Regions from separate parts of the Homo sapiens genome. Here region 1 is linked to region 2. The links are contacts of gene promoters, found by promoter capture Hi-C in human tissues and cell types (Jung and others, 2019). All regions are on one chromosome and are shown on one strand. Each heading gives the region's core, a stretch centred on a gene start or on the middle of the fragment in contact. The rest is flanking DNA. Distances are from core to core; before and after follow the strand shown. Region 1 overlaps AP3B1 (adaptor related protein complex 3 subunit beta 1). Region 2 holds the start of OTP (orthopedia homeobox).

Region 1 (3,531 bases), core at 554-3,053, 450 kb after region 2:
GCTCTATGCTCCCAGGCAGCTCAGATGATCAGTTATATGCCATGTAGTACCCTGCCAGCCCTGAGAACCAGATCTATTGAAGCTACCTATGCCCATCAAAGCTTACTATTCTGTCTCTTAGTCTGTCAGATTTCTGACAACAAATTAACAGGAGGTCAAGCATATCAACAGATTATACATCTTAGGCGCAGCGTGCTTGATTTACAGTGAAAAGTTAGTGGATATAATATGCTAACACAATAAACAGTTGTTGCAGCTTCAAATACCATGATATGTTGACGGTTTTTGCATTATTTTGTGACAGGTAGGTTCTAGCCTCACTTCACATCACATTCTATAAATAACATTAAAGAATAATTTTAAAGACACCAACACATGTAAATAAATGTACAAAAATAAGACAGAAAAAAAAATCTTGAACTTTTAAATAAAAACAGTCATGAATTTTTAATAGTCTATGAAAAAATAGTGTGGTAGGAATAAAACGATTACGGAAATGAAAGTCTGTTAATGTAGACAACTTTTTGTGGCACAGTTCAGGTATATGTACTGCGTCAATGTGGTGAAGAACCTTTGTATGTTACAGATATATAACAATACCAGAGAAAAACATACAGATGATAATTAAGTGTGGACAACAAGGGAAAAAAATTGAGAAGATAATGGTTTGAGTAAATTATTTAAAAAATTAAAAGGTCTTAGCTAAATTGGGCTTGTTCTTAGAGAAGAATCTGTTCAAAACTAAGAATCCACTTCAAGTATTTACATTTTAATAAAAAAGATACAATGGCAACATAAGAAAACCGAGCTGGTGGATTTTAAAAATAACTTACACTGATGACTGAAGAGGAAGTTGACAAGTGTAAACCTTCAAGATCAGCCATCAAACTTGGAGAAAGAGCTGGTGTGGGAAGTGCAACTGGAGTGGATACTGGGTTAACTGTAAGAAAAGGCCCAAATTAGTAAATGTGCATGAACGTTTAATTCAAATTATTAAAAGCAACATTTTTATTTTGTTAGTAAATCTAATTAAATTACTTTGATTAATAAATGTATGACAATTCTATTTAACATCTTGATTTAGTCAACTTATTATCAAGTCATGGCAGTTATTAGTCTTAGCTTTCAAAACATAATGGCAAATCCTATAACAAAATAAGGATATAAATATCTTGAGTAATAGTTTGTGAAAATTTTTATCACATAACATTATCACTAACATTTATCACCCAGTAATCTCCCTAAAAAAGTAAAGAAACATTTTTTTTCCAGACTATCATAAGAATAACAACCGCTTCCAAGAGAATGCTGCAGTGGAATTAGAAGTCTTGAAAGATGTTCAAATCCTATATCTATTTTATTCTCCACTCTAATCAGGCTACCTAATTCCCTTGTAATTATACTTTTTCAGCAAAAGCTATGTGCTAGATAGAAATGTTTGACTGATTCTAAAACTGCTATATACTTGAGAACTGATACCTGTAAGTTTGGAAATCTTCTAAAAATGCAAGTCTGGTCATGTTACTCCCCTGCTTAAGACTCTTCAAAGGCTCATAACTGCCTACAAGATAAAAGCCCAACTCCTCAATTAAGTTCACAAAGTCCTCTATGGTCTGCCCCAGCCCAAACAGCCCTTCCTATGCTAATGGAAATGTTCTACATTTGATAAAGTGGACACTAGCCACATATGCCTAACATACTCTTGATATGTGGCTAGTATGACTAAATAAATGCATTTTAAACTTTGCATAATTTAAGTAATTACATGTGGCTTGTGGCCGCCATACTGGACTATTCAGGTCCAGCTTATCTCCAATTTCAGCATTGTTATGCACTAGCTCTATGGGATAATAGTTCCCAAGATCTTGTTCTACGTCTTGGAGCCTTTTATATTCTACTCTGTTTGCCTACTTCTCTGCCTTGCTCATCTTGCAACTTCGATCTGGCAAGCTACCCTTTAAAAGGAAAACACTCTCTGGCTCACCTGCAAACAGCTTATATGTGCCTTCTTTGTTCCACAGATATACTTGAACAAACTTCTATAACTGTACTTCTCATGTAATACAAATTTGTGTCTTTACATGTTTGCATTTCTGCTAGTCTGTGTGAACAGACAATAACATTAATTTTTGGTGTTTCTAAACCATTTGAATAAAATACATTACAATGTGGTCAAGTTTTAGCTTCCAACAAATTCTCATTCCAAGATAATACCCTAAAGGGAATAACATTTAGTTAATTTGACATTTCTTTTTTTATTTTTATTTTTGGAGATAGGGTCTTGCTCTGTTGCCCAGGCTGGAGTAAAGCGGTGCAATCCCTTCCTGGGCCCAAGCAATCTCAGCCTCCTGAGTAAGTGCATGCCACCATACCCAGCCTTTTTTTTTTATTTTTTATTTTATTTTTTTTTAGAGATGGGATCTCCCCATGTTGTCCAGGCTGGTCGCTAACTCCTAGGCTCAGGCAATCTTCCTACCTTGGCCTCCCAAACTGCTGGGATTACAGGCGTGTGCCACAACACCCAGCTGTGACATTACTTTTCAAAGCATCTTTTTCTCATTTCAGTCTCACAATATCCAGTGAACAAGGCAGAACAAATATTAATCCGTAAAGTTAACAACAAATATTTATTCTGAAAGGTAGCAAGTGAGAGACAAAAAAGTTCAAGATCCTCAAGTAACAAAACCTAATTAAGAAAAAGAGATACATGTATTTGACAAAAAAAAAAAAAAAAAAGTAACAATACAGTCCATAAATGATACGGCCAAAGAAGAAAAATTTCAAAGGAAACACTAAACAAAATCTCAACATATATAATAGAGAAAGCAGCCTGGAGGTTGGATGGGGAGGGAGTGGAGCTCTTGGTCTTCCCTACGCTCACTTAGTACGGCTGAAGCACAGCTTCAAACCCCCAGGCTTCCTTAGACCCACACTGAAAACCCCGGTACAGTTTAGCAAGTGTCACAGAGTCAGGGGCAAAACAAGGATCACTGGAGAAGGAGTGGAAGAGGAGGCTTCATGAACAGGAGGGAATGAAGTCCAATTTTTAAGTAAGAGTGAGATTTGAATAAGAGGAAAGAAAGAAGCCAGTTAATTGTTGGATAACAGAATGCTATAAACAAAGGCTGAGAGGTAGGAAATTGAAAAACTAAGGGGACTGGATTTATCCTATAGACCAAGGGGAACAGTCAAAAATCGATCAAACAGAGGAATGACAATGAATATGGTCCTGCAGGATGGTTAATCAGATGGCAGTACAATGCACAGACTGAAGGCAGGGTTGGGAGTAGGGAAGAATTTACAATAGTTTAGGAATGAAGTGAAAAAGACTAAAGTAAGCCAATGGCAATGAGAAGGCTTAAAAAGAGCATTTAATATTGAAGACACTGGAAACTGAGCCACAGGGAGATTAATATTGACAAGGTCATAAAAAGTGAATGGTAGAACCACTATAGAATTAGAAACTGCTTCTTCTAACTTGGATCATAATATGTTGCCTTCCCATGCAACACGTAACTTTTCAGGTAAGTT
Region 2 (3,427 bases), core at 161-2,660:
TTCCTTCAACCCGTCCTCGGCCCCCTCCGCACCCGCGCTTGTCCTAAGGAAGAAACTCCCAGGGTATTCAGCTGGGTTCCCCAGAATTTGGACAGCCGGGTTGGAATAATATCTCCCGGCCCCTTGCCCTCGCCGCAGCCGGCTCCCGTAGTAAACAGCACAAGCTTTCGTCTCTCCCACAATAAAACACTCCCAGTCCCGGCAATAAAACATGCCTCTGAATCCCTTCCATAAACCGTACCCCAGGCGCCCCAGGAAATCGAGAGCAAATCTTTGGACACAGGGGTGCGGGGGGCAGAAAGAAAATTAAACAATTCCTCGGTTGCTGCGGCACCTGCGCTTCGGCAGCCTGACGAACTGTACCTCCGGCCCTCAGCCGATTCCCTCTTACTTTCGGAAGATGAATAAGCCTCCAAGCTTTCACCCCCCGAAATCAACCCAAATCAGCTCCGCCTCCCCCTCAAATCAGAGAAAGTGTTTGGAAAATGGAGTCACATCCATCACCGAAGATTCCCAATCCGGAAACCCAGAGCTCAGCAACCCAGATAGCATTAAGGAAACTCGAGTGAACTCTATGGACAACCGTGAATCAAACTTTAGAGATTTCAACTTTTCTTTCCAGAGAAATAAAAGGCGCATTCCTCACAGCCATTGGCAACGCTGAGTCCCTTGCAGAAGAGGGGGGGATGACTGTGAGGTTGAATTTGGCTTCTCTCCTTCTCAACCAGCACACTTAGCAAATCCGCCTTGATGGCAGCAGCTTCTCCTTTATGCCAGATTTTTTACAAATTACACCACACTTAGAAAAGGAGGAGAGAAGAAGATGGTGGGGAGAGAGAAACGGGGGGAGGGAAGGAGAAAGAAATCCCAAATCAAAACAAACAGGAGAGGGAAAAAAGAGAGAGAAACACCTCCTAACAAATTATCACGGGGTATATCGCCTTTCGAAAAAAAAAAAAAGGCGGGGGAGGGGGGAAGAGAAAAATAAGAAAAACAAAAAGTAACAACATTCCCCAACTCCTTTCTTGGATCTACATATTCCATAGATTTTTTTTTAAAGGCGATGTTAAATCAAATTAAACTTTAATGCAGCACAATTACTTTTAAAGAAATTAGTCCATTTAGGTCGCATTAAGGTAAAATAAGGAACAAATTGACAATTTCCTGCCCCGGCTTCTCCTGGCTGCCCGGGCGAGAGGCGCGCACTCACCTAGCCTGGCGTCCAGGAGGTCGGCATGAGACAGCATCGCGCACCGCTCCAGGGCGAAAGCTGTTCCCCCCCAAATTTTAGCGGCTTTAAGTTATTTAAAATAGATATAAGCTATAAGCTATACGATATAGATATATATAGATCACCTAAATGAAAGAAAATTCGGTTTGTGGTTAAAAAGGGGGCTTCTTGCATTATAATGTCCTTTAGAGAGACGGGGAGGTGCTTAACAGTTGAATGAACCCGTGAGCAGCTCGGCGAGGGGACCAATCAGGAGGGCAGCCTGCAAATGTCAGCGCCCGGAGAGTCCCCCACTCCGCCCGCCCGCTCGCCTGCGCCCGCCTGAAGGAGGCGGCGGCGGCAGCCCTGGCAGCTCCAGCCCGGAGCAGGAGCTAAAGCAGCCTCAGCCGCCTCGGCCTCGCCCTGAGCTTCTGGGCCCGGCTCCCTCTAGTTCTTCCCTGCGATTTTCTCCAGGCTCCCCTTTCCTTCCCCTTGGCCGGCGCTGCGCGCTTCGAAGGCGTAGCTCTGTGCCTCTGAGCTAACATCTTCCTAGGGCAGGGGCAGAGCAGGGGTCAGAGCGGGCCATGACCCTGGCGTGACCTGAGGGTCGCCCCCACCTGCGCTCTCTGGGCCTGCCGCTCATATTGGCCCGCCAGCCCAGGGCGCGACGAGGGCACACCGCGGCCTTCAGACAACGCCTGGACTTCGCCGCGGCTCAGTAGGCCTGCGCCTAGGGTCCAGGCGCCCTGGCTGTGCCCTGGGGTCTATACGAGCCCCAACCCCACAGTGGGCCTAGAGCGCAAAGAGGAGTCGGCTTCCCTGGCACCGCCAGCGCCCGCTGTCTGCTTTGGGGACCCTCGCGGAGTGTGGGTTCGAGCGCTCTGCACTCTTCTCACCGGGCTTCTTCCCGGCTCCTGCTCTTCCGCTTGGCCCACGCCCGCATCCTCGCCCCTAACTCGCTCTTTTGGTCAAAGTTTCTAAGTTCAGCTCGGCTCCCAACTCCACTTAAGGCTGTAAATAAAGTTAAATGCTCTTTATTTTCCTCTTGAATATGTTAAACTACTTGAACAATTTAAAGTGCTTTGCACAAGTGAAGCGAACCATTTCTAATGTTCTGATTTTTCAGAGCCAGCCAACAACAAAGTTTAGATTAGTAATATATTTCTAACCAGAGTAATTTTCAAGATCATTAGGCATTTATGTAATTAGTGCCAAATCTATAAGCTTTTATTACGATTATTAGAGTAAAATCAGTATAAATTTGTACTAATTTACTACTGTTTAGACTTGGCTGTCAAGCCTAGAGGTTCTTATTGTAAATGATAACTGAGGAAATTAAGTGCAAAATTCTGTACCATTTCTGATCTGCTCCTAAACAATCCGTTTCAATTGTATTTGTAGCAGAACATAATGCCCTTTTAAAGTTATTTGACTTGTATTTTTATTTGCAACACAAGAAAAATGCCCTCTACCCAGTCACAATGAAAACTGATATTTACTACTCCCAACTTGATTAACATTGATTTTTAATTCGAGAGTGATGCAATTAAGATTATTCATTTAGTGCAAATAAACCTTCCACAAAAGGGTGGCCCAATGAAGTCTGTTTTAAATAATACTGAGCAAATGGCTTTTTTTGTTCGCCGTCCAATTGACTTAGACAAAACATTGAAAATGCTGGCTGAGAGCAGATGCGAGAGGAATTGTGTGTGTGTGTGTGTGTGTGTGTGTGTGTGTGTGTGTCCTCAGCTGTATGTGTGACAGGGACCGAGCAAGGAGACAAAGGAGGCGGCAAAGCGAACTCTCGGGCAGTTTTGTTTCCTCCTTCCCTCCTGCAGCCCGTTCGCCTCCTCTCCTGCACACACACGTGCGCGCGCACACATATGCACACACGTGTGAATGCAGGGTATTGGCCACACCAGTTTCTTCTGAGCTGCGGAGACCGCTTCCCGGGAAGCTCCGGGCCGGACTGGGTTTCAGCGGCTGCTGCAGCTGCTACCAACGCGGCCTATGTGGGACTGGGCGCCGGGGTCGTGGACTCAGGCTCGCGGCGTGTCTGGGAGCCGCTAGGGTTTTTGGCAAGCGGCCGCAGCCCTTCTGAGAAACGCTTTGCCTGGGAGGAGAATTCCGAGACCTAAAGCAAACAAAGTCTCCCCAATAAAAGCTTTCTTTGCCCCCAAACAAAACCTCAAATCTAGAAGCTAGAGCGCTGGGAGC

The links. Contacts are between HindIII fragments. The study calls those that stand out against the background at their distance.
Region 1: a contact is called between a fragment that was not itself captured here and the fragment with the promoter of OTP in region 2, in 1 of the 25 tissues and cell types used here (lymphoblastoid cells).

The regions. Positions count from the first base shown.
Region 1 is chr5:78,088,560-78,092,090 of GRCh38, forward strand. AP3B1 (adaptor related protein complex 3 subunit beta 1) reads right to left here. Exons shown (of 27, transcript NM_003664.5): 22 at 834-940. Among named protein-coding and RNA genes, the nearest start is that of AP3B1, 200 kb to the right of the region's middle. The HindIII fragment of the contact is 4,309 bases long and covers 1-3,531 here.
Region 2 is chr5:77,637,303-77,640,729 of GRCh38, forward strand. It overlaps OTP (orthopedia homeobox), which reads right to left and starts at 1,411. Exons shown (of 3, transcript NM_032109.3): 1 at 1,211-1,411. The coding sequence starts at 1,247. RefSeq lists enhancers at 1,397-1,953, 1,954-2,508. The HindIII fragment of the contact is 12,469 bases long and covers 1-2,904 here.